Regions from separate parts of the Homo sapiens genome. Here region 2 is linked to region 1. Evidence: promoter capture Hi-C in human tissues and cell types (Jung and others, 2019). All regions are on one chromosome and are shown on one strand. The core of a region is centred on a gene start or on the middle of the fragment in contact, and the rest is flanking DNA. Distances in the headings are between cores, read along the strand shown.

The links. Contacts are between HindIII fragments. The study calls those that stand out against the background at their distance.
Region 2: a fragment that was not itself captured here is called in contact with the fragment with the promoter of PMP22 in region 1 in 3 of the 25 tissues and cell types used here (IMR-90 fibroblasts, hippocampus and liver).

Annotation. Positions count from the first base shown.
Region 1 is chr17:15,262,809-15,267,648 of GRCh38, forward strand. PMP22 (peripheral myelin protein 22) reads right to left here and starts at 2,518. Exons shown (of 5, transcript NM_000304.4): 1 at 2,346-2,518. It overlaps LOC124903931 (a long non-coding RNA gene), which reads left to right. Exons shown (of 2, transcript XR_007065632.1): 2 at 2,648-3,101. The HindIII fragment of the contact is 30,387 bases long and covers 1-4,840 here.
Region 2 is chr17:15,372,865-15,377,704 of GRCh38, forward strand. No RefSeq gene overlaps it. Among named protein-coding and RNA genes, the nearest start is that of TEKT3, 34 kb to the left of the region's middle. The HindIII fragment of the contact is 5,946 bases long and covers 1-4,840 here.

The DNA of each region.
Region 1 (4,840 bases), core at 1,268-3,767:
CTGGCCCCGTGGAGACCTAGTGTTGACCGAGAAACTGGCTCCTCAGCCCACTCTGGGAAGACCCAGCCAAATGTAGCTCAGCGGATGCCCAGGGCTGGGCTTCTGGGCCCGCCGACGCCGACCGCGCCCGCGCGGGGCTGAGGCTGGATTCCTTTCCCACTAATAGAGGGCAGCGGGCGCTTGAGCGCTGGAAGAAGTCCCTCTCCTCTCGGGTCCTGGAGCCCCTGCCCTGTCCTGGCGTCTTAGCCGGACACACCTGCCCCGCGCCGGTCCCCGCTATTACTGTCTGCACCTACGAAGCATGCCAGCTTCCTAGGATTGGCGGGGATTGATCTAGCGGGCTCCTCTTGGGTGCGAATTAGGGGAAGAAAAGTCCGGCCGACTACTGGATAGCATGGTCTGGGATTGGGCTCCTCCTAGCCTAGGCAAAACCAGACTACCACCGAATAAGCTCTAGGCAAAGTGTTCCTGCAGCAGTCGGGCTTGGCTGTCAGCCTTGGCTGGAGTCCTGGCCATGGGGTTTGGCGGGCGGGTGCGAGGTGGCCATTTGAGGTGGGGTTGGAGCAGCCAAGGAAATCAGCTGATTCATAGCCTCCTAACGTGGCCCGCCCAGCGTTACAGGGAGAGAGGCTAGCCCCCTTCAGTCTCGGCTTGGCAGAGGCGCGCCCAACTGAGACTCCCGTGCGCAGGCCAGCCTTGAGGCACGGGACAGGGAGCAGGAATGTGGATGTTAAAGGTTTCTGCCTGAAAATGCAGCAGTTCACGCACGCGCGCGCACACACACACACACACACACTTCCCTACCTCTAGTGTACTGTGTCATAGAAGCTCATCACTCTCAATGATTCAAATAATTCTATATTATTTTACGATTTGAAAGGAGCTGCTATTTTAGCTAATTGTATATTCTTACGGTAAGTAAAAATAAATTTGAAAAAGATCTTCAAACAATGATCTTTTTAAAACTATCGTGTTATCAGATTAAAATGAAGTGTACTTGTAAACACTGCATTTACAGTGCCCGTTATATGCCAAGCACTTTGCCTGGACTTTATATGCATGGTCTGTGAGAGGCAGTATGGTGCAGTGGTTAGGCACTCTGGCTCTGGGCTCCAACAAACCTAATCACCCTGCTTACTTTTGTTGTGAATTTGGGCAATTTCTCAAGTTCACTGAGCTTCAGTTTTCTCAGGTGCAAAAGGAAATAGTAATGCCTGCTTTAAAGGTTTATGGTGGTGATTGAAGGAGACAATATGTACAAAGCAGTTAACATCGTGTCTGCAACATAATAAGGGCCCAGTGCCCAAATTGCCACCACTATTATTATATCACATTTAACTCTCACATCAACCTTTCAGGGAAGACCTGACCACCTCTGCACTAAAGTAGCTTGTAACTCTGATAGGTAGGTAGGTAGGTAGGTAGATAGATAGATAGATAGATAGATATAGATAGATAGATAAAGATTTATAAATGAAAGTGCATATGCAAGTAGAAAAAAAAGTCTAAAGACATGGCAGTGTTTTCTTTCCTCCACAGGTCATTTTATAAGTTAGATTTGCTCTAGAAATTATTACTTTGTTTTATGCCATTTGGACATTTATTTATTTAACCAACACTTATGTGATCACAACATACTCAGGACTGTTCTAAGTAAGCACTTTAGAAATATGAGCATATCTAACTCAGGGTTTTCTTTCCCTTCCTTTGTGATTTTCAAATAAACTTTTTAATAAAGTCTAATACACATACAGAAAAGTGCATATATTGGGTGCTACAGCTCGCTTCTTCCTTTCTTTTGAACCCAATAGTTTAATCAATAACCACCCAGGTCACAGCCACACCATATACTGCCAGACAGGTAAACCCAACCCATCTGTCCCTCACTGCCTCTGGCCTCCTGCCTGGTTCTCAATGGTGGCAGAGGAAGTGCTACTCAGTGCCTGCTGACCAGGCTTGCCACACCCAGAGCCCGGCTGGCCAAGGCTCTGCCACAGGTGGCAGCTTCTCCCTAACCTGCTTACCAAGGCCACCTGCCAGCTGTGTGTGCACAGCTATTTTCCATGGGGGAAAAAGCATCTAGATTCCTTTCTTCCTTTCAATCTGGATGCATTAGGGTTTCTAGATGCTCTCAGATGGCCCCCCACCTCCCCAGCCAGAGTATATATCCACCTTTTAACCAAGGATATAAAAAGCCCTCTGAATCTCCAGTCAATTCCAACACAAATGCACCATCTCTCCTGCAATCCTTTTCATTTGCGGCTTGCAGGGGGTGGGAAATTAGGCAATTCTTGTAAAGCATAGGCACACATCACCCAGAGGCACAGTTTGCCAATAAAACTCACCCGGCCAAACAGCGTAACCCCTTCTTCCAAGCAGATTTCTTTGCAGCCAAATGCAAGGGATGTTAAGGCAAGACCCTCCCCACAGGGCAGTCAGAGACCCGCAGCCGACAGACTAAGCCTGCAGCTTCCAACCAGGCTCCCCGAGATGTTCCCTGGTGGTGCTCCCTGTAACTGAAGCCAGACCAGGCGTCTTTCCAGTTTATTCAGGGGCTGGTCCAATGCTGGGATATGTCATGGTGGCCTGAGAGGTTCTCAGCCTCTATTATTTAAAGAGACAGTGTCCAACTTTGTTTGCTTTCCAGAATACAATAATCCCAAGAGGCCCTGCAGGGCATGGAGAAACTGGAATCAGAAGGGAGAAGAGCTTTGAGTATGCCTGAAGCCTGTGATGCCAAGACTGTTCTCTCTGGAAGTGCCAACCTGTGTAATAGCCAAGAGGTCCCACTGGCTCCCCTCCCCTCCCAGTGAATTCTGCAGAGATTAAATATACTGTGGGAAGGATCTGTGTCTACAGTGTTACATACGTGCAGGTAAGTTTTATTTTAAATAAACTTCCTTTTAAGGAGCCCAAACATTGCACAGCTAATCTCTCACAGCATCACAGCAGTGAGCCAAATGTCTCAAGAGTCACCAAATCAAGCCTCCTTTGTTCCAACCCCTGGTTGGAAGGACTCCCTGTTACCTGCCTTGTCTGCCTAGACCCCATCGCAAATGATCACATGTGTTGTACATTAGAATAAAACTTAGGGAAATGTGTTCTTCCGACTCTGTCTTTAATGTGCCCGAATCAAGCTGACCTTCATGAGATAATTCAATGCAAGTAAACGAACCTCTATTGAAAACTATTGAAAACTTTCTAACCTGTCAGGCAGAATAGGCTGGAAGAGCAATTGGAAATTCTTGGAGAGGGAAGTAAAGGAAGTTATGGCATATTTAGGTTCTTTGCAGCGTACCACTCCAGCTCCCAGAGAGTCCTCCATCCCTTGAACCGCTTCTAGCTGCAAACTCTGACACAAGAGGACTGGTTTCATTGCATGAGTTTCCTGGAATTCTGGCACTTGGGGCATAAGACTTCCTCTTGTGTTAGGGATCCCCAGTCTGGAGAGACCTGCAGAATTTGGAGGAGTCCCTCCCTGTCACACACTTTACGTTTGATTGGACTCTCCAGTCACAAGGGCCTCTCAATGGCCCTCTCCCCTGTTCTGCCCACAGCCAGCATCTGCTCACAGCCAGCATCACAGCCAGTGCCAATAAAATAGTTTCACCTTTCTCTCTTTGCTGAAATCATTTTTATTTTTCACAGCAGTGGTTCTTTAGAATCACTCAAGAGCTTTGCAAATGACCTAGCCTGGGCCATGGTCAGAGAAGCTGACTCAGGTGTTTTGGGATGGGGCTCAGGTATGGGTAATTTCCAGTGTCTTTCTCCCCGCTGGATGTTTCGTTGTCCAGCCAGGTTGTCATGTGGAGTTAGATTGTCGCTGATTTCCTTCCAGCTCCCTTCTGTTGTGGAACCCAAATGGAGATGAGGTACAGTGTGGGCTGCTGCAGTATTATGCAAGTTATAAGTCTGTTCTGCCAGGCAAAACGGTGTGTGTGTGTGCGCGTGTATCTGTGTGTGTGTGTGTGCGCGTGTGCGTGTGTGTGACAGAGAGAGAGAGAGAGGAGCCTCCCTCAGTCCTCCTCTGACATGGTCTGTACGGGGACTGGGAACAGTGAGCATGGTTTTTGCAGCCTCTCCAGACAGTCTTTTCCTGGGTACTGCCATGATCAGCTCCAAAGGCTACACGACAGAGGCTGCTGTCCGTCAGGCCAGGATCAAGCCTGAAGACACGTAAGATTATTTCTGATCTAAGAGCTAAAGATTCAGAGGAAAAGGGGTAGGGCCTGGTGAGTGTGGGGCATGGCTTCTGGCCAGATAGGAGCAGTCTGATTAGCCCTCCCTCTCTCCTTCCATGAGCTCCACATTCTGAGACCTGCTCTCTTGGCCTCACGTCTCTTTTGCCCAGGTCCTCCATCTCCAGCAGCCAAACCCCGAAGTCCCTGTTGGCTGTCAGCAGTAGAGCTGTTCACTGTTGTGTGCCACTGGCCCTGTCTACCAGATGCCAACACACTTGTCTTTACCCATCTGGGCCAGACTCTCTTCCCTTCCCAGAGTCAGGTGAGGAAAACTCCTTCCTCGTCTCCCATTTCCAATAACCTTTTCTCAGCCAAATGGGACCCCTATCCCATGCATCTGTGTTGAGCAATGTCTCTGCAAAGCTGTAGGCTATATCCCACTGAGCCTCTTGCAAAATAAACACATAGAATAGTCACCAAATAACATTTATTATTATTTGCTATCCTCCCTTCCATTTACAGATAGGAAAAATGAGAATCGGGATTCTCTGAGGAAACACAGTTGAGTCAATGAGACTGGCTATTTCTAGCACCTGAGCTGTTCTGCTACACCACGCTCCATCGGCTCAGTAGCATCAGTTATCCGCAAGTCCTTGATA
Region 2 (4,840 bases), core at 1,442-3,941, 110 kb after region 1:
ATACAAAATTAGCCAGGCATGGTGGTGCATGCCTGTAATCCCAGCTACTCGGGAGGCTGAGGCAGAGGAATCACTTGAACGTGGGAGGCGAAGGTTGCAGTGAGCCGAGATTGCACCATTGCACTCCAGCCTGGGCAACAAGAGCAAAACTCTGCCTCAAAAAAAAAAAAAAATTCTCTATCTTTATATCCTTATTTTATAAGCTATTTTCCATTTTTAATTTTTTACTTTTTAAACTTGTTTGTAAAAACTAAGATACAAACACACACATTAGCCTAGGCCTACACAGGGTCAGGATCATCAATATCATTGTTCTCCATATCCATGTCTTATCCCACTAGAAGGTCCTCAGGGGCACTAACACACAGGGAGCTGTCATCTCCTATGATAACAATGTCTTCTTCTGGAACACTTCCTGCAGGACCTGCCTGAAGCTCTTTTGGAGGAAGTGTCACTCTTTTCATAAATATGTTCATAGTGATTTGCCTGGTTTACTTTTTTATCATAGGTTTGCATGAGTAATATGTTGTGCTATGACATTACAAAGACTATGATGCCATTAGGTAATACGAACTTTTCACCTCGATTATAATCCTATGGGACCTCTGTTATATGCAGGTTCATTGTTGACTGGAATGTGTTTATGTGGCAAATAATTGTATATCTAAAAATGTCATTATTCTTCACTTATACACTTGATTAGCTATTTGTCTCATTATTAAATTCTAGTTTGAAAATATTTTTCCTTCTGCCTTCCAAGGTTGTGTGAAACCACACTGATTCCTAATTCTTTCTTTATGAGACCCGGTTTCCCTCTTTCATCTTTCAGTGTCTTTTCTTAATTCCTATTGTTCTGAAATTTCATAAAAGATAGACTTGTCATGAGCTTGTTGTTGTTGTTTTTATTTGTTCATTTTGTTTGTTTTACTTGTAATAGTTTTTGATCCTTGCTTATCTCTTATTACCTGGACTGTCATGTCCTTCAGTTCTAGAAAGTCTTCTTGTACCATGTCTCAGATAATTTCCTCCTCTTCATTTCCTCTGGATCTCCTATTAGATGAATTTTGTTTTTTTTAAATAGATCCTTTAGGCCAGGCACAGTGGCTCACGCCTGTAATCCCAACACTTTGGGAGGCTGAGGAGGGTGGATCACCTGAGGTCAGGAGTTCAAGACCAGCCTGGCCAACATGGTGACAACCCATCTCTACTAAAATTACAAAAATTAGCCAGGTGTGGTGGTGCATGTCTGTAATCTCAGCTACTTGGAGGCTGAGGCAGGAGAATCACTTGAACCCGGGAGGCGGAGGTTGCAGTGAGCCGAGATTGCATCACTGCACTCCAGCCTGGGAGACAGAGTGAGACTCTATTTCAAAAAAAAAAAAAAAAAGAAAACATATATATACACACACACACACACACACATACATATACATATATAAATGTTCTTATTGTTTCTCTACGATTTTCCATATCTTTGCATGACATCTTTACATTTTGGAAGATTTTCTCAATTGTATTTCCCAGTCTTCCTCTAATGTTTATTCTGCTGTGCTACTTCAAATTTCCAAGAGCTTTTATTGTTGTCTGATTTTTTTTTTCTGAGAATGAGGTTCTTATTGTATGAATGCAATGTCACCTCTCACCTCTTTGGAGACATCAGTGCTACAGTATTTTTGAAGGTTTCTCGTCTGCCCTGCATAATTTCTTACCTGGTTTCTTATGTTTGTTTTGGACCCTTCCCCCAAATGTCTGATGAAAGTTGACTGCCCATGTATGTTTCAGAGTCTTAGGGGCACTAAGAAGATGACTGCAGGCTCAAAGTACACAGCCAAGACTTGTCAAGCAGCAGCTGCCACACTTGGGCACCTCCAGGTTTCAATGAATGGAGCTATTTTCTCTGGGTCAGAATTTTCCAAATCACGTCCTTGTGTGTGGCTGGGGGCATACTGTGAGCAGAGCCAGGGAAGAGAGCAGAAGGATGCAGAGCTTCATTTCATACCCATTTTCATCCCTGTACCACACCACCTCATTGTGCCTAAAATGTTCAAGACCAGAACTCCTTCTATCTAATCTGTCTGTAATATAAACCTGCAACTTTATACATGGAGCAGAGGTCAGGCTAGATCAATCTGGAGACCCCCAACTCTGGATGAAGTCTGTGCTCCTGTAGCCTTTTTGCAGCCCCCAGCTTGCCTCCCACTTTCTGTGGGACCTGATGCTTTCAAGACCAGACTCTCCAAAGAGTTTTATGGACTCTATGAATGAAGTCACCTGTTTTCTTCCAGTATCCCCTACTCAACTAATTTTAGAATGCAGTTTTTGCCTCTTTGCTAAGTCAGTTCTTCTCTCCCACCTGTTTTCCATATTCCAGAAATTGGTTTAAATCTCTCACACACTGGTGGCTCCTGTCTTGTCTTCTGAGCCCTCCTGGGAGGACTCAGAACCTTTTGTGTTTCTATAACGTTACGTTAGAGTGGTCTTGGGTGGAGAGTGGGGAAAAGAAAAAATGATACACATAGATATTTGATCTGCCATGTTTTAACAGGTGTTTTCTTTTCCTTCTGCTCTTGTCCAGTTTCAAAGTTATGCCTGTGGTATGAATTGAGAACGTTTGCATTTTTTCTATGCTCTGGGAGAGTTAATATCACATAGTCTCTGGTAGAATGTGTCCAGAAAAGGATCCAGGCCTTCTATCTTTTTAAGGGTTAGATTTTTGACTGCCTTTTCAATTTTTCTGTGGTTATTGTTTTATTTAAGTTTTCTACCTCTCCCCAGACCATCTCAAATTTTGGTATTTGGAGCTCCTGAATCTATACATATCTTACTTTTTATTTTATTCTTTCAATGGTTTGTTCTATAGCATAAAAATCAGGGAATGGCATCAATAGTCACAAGGTAGAAACAACCCAAGTATCCACTGACAGACGAATGGATAAACAAGGTGTGGTATTTCAGACAAGGCAATATTATTCAGCCTTAGAAAGAAAGGAAATTCTGACACATGCTACAATATGGCTGAACCTTGAGAGCATAATGCAGAGTGAAATAAGCCAGCCACAAAAGGACAAATGCTGAATGATTCCACTTACATAAGAGACCTAGAATAGTTAAATTCATAGAGATAGAAAGTAGAATGGTGGTTGCCAGAGGCTGGGTTGAGTTGCGGTGGGAGGTTTTTTAACGGGTACAGAGTCTGGGATTTGCAAGATAGGAAGAGTTCTCTGGATGGATGGTGGTGATGGTCACACAACAATATGAATGTACTTAATGCCCCTGAACTGTACACTTAAAAATAATTAAGATGGTAATGTATTTTACAACAAATTAAACTTGTTTAATTTTAAATTTAAGAAAAAATTAGGAAGACTTTCTTGGCTTGGACGTTTAGCCCACTGATTTAGTTTTCACATTTGGTTATTTGCTCACTATGCTGAAGTTTTTTAAAAGTCACTTATTTTAAATTTGTAAAGTTTCTACTTGATTCTTGTTTTATACCAACTATTCTTATTTTGTGGCGATTCCCCCCAAGTAACCTATCATAAGATGTTAATAATCTTTAAAGTATTTGGTCATTTTCACTATTTCCTTAGAAGATAATTTCCTTCTCTGCCTTATTAAGCTTAGTGTTTTGTGTTTTTTTTTTGTTTGTTTTTGTTTTTCGAGATGGAGTTTCGCTCTTGTTGCCCAGGCTGGAGTTCAATGGTGCGATCTCGGCTCACCGCAACCTCCGCCTCCTGGATTCAAGTGATTCTCCTTCCTCAGCCTCCTGAGTAGCTGGGATTACAGGCATGCATCACCATGCCCAGCTAATTTTGTATTTTTAGTAGAGACGGGGTTTCTCCATGTTGGTCAGCCTGGTCTCGAACGGCTGACCTCAGGTGATGTGCCCACCTCGGCCTCCCAAAGTGCTGGTATTACAGGTGTGAGCCACCGCGCCGAGCCAGCTTAGTGGTTTTGTTTCATGTGTTTGTTTTTCTGGAGTGTCTGATGATTTTTGCTCTTCTCTTTGTATTGAGAATTTCCTCCTTGCCTGTCTGTGGACACAGTTTATCGTCTGTGTCTCTTGTTCTTGGTGAATGTGCGGAGGCGTTTAATGTGTGTGGACAGGTCTCTATCCCTCTTTAGCTGCAGTAGTAGGCTCCAGGGTACCTCCTTCTTTCTGAGCCCCAGTTGCCCACCACACTATCTGCAGTCATGGCTTCTTGCTGCATAGCAGAAGTTGAGATTGAGGGAAGGGGCTGCCTTGCCTGCCTGGCCTTCCAACTAATTGCCCTGAAGAAAGCCCCAGGACCCCGCCTGTGCCCTTGTTTCTACCTAGACTCTGGGTCTGGGGCTTCCTTGCCCCACCACATCTGCATAGCAGCCTTTTTCTGGGATGCCCTCTGGTTTACATCTTCTGCTCTTCTGGTTTGCCCCCACCTTGGAGAACTGACTAATATGGTACTCATCTTATTTCTTGGTGCTGTCACGAACTTAATATTTCAAGTCATTTTTATCTGGGTGTTCAGTCCACCCCCTTGTGGTGCCCTTCGTTAGTCTTCATAATGACTTCTTGAAAGCTCTCTGAGTCAGGCCAGGTTGCTTCTGAGCTCCACAGCAAGCTGGTAGAACTCATACTTATGAATAGTGCTGAATAGTTCTCCACACTTGAGTCATTCACAACTACAAGGGCCCAAACAGACAAAAAGGATCCTTATAACGCGTGGAAGGTGCTTTTCTCCATGAGCTGCTGGATAAATGAAGCCTGTCATTTCTTGCATACTGCAGCTTCTCAAGCACTTTCCTGGGACTCCAAGGAGACCAACGTGTTCTGGCGCCGTGAGAGGAAACACTGGCAGTT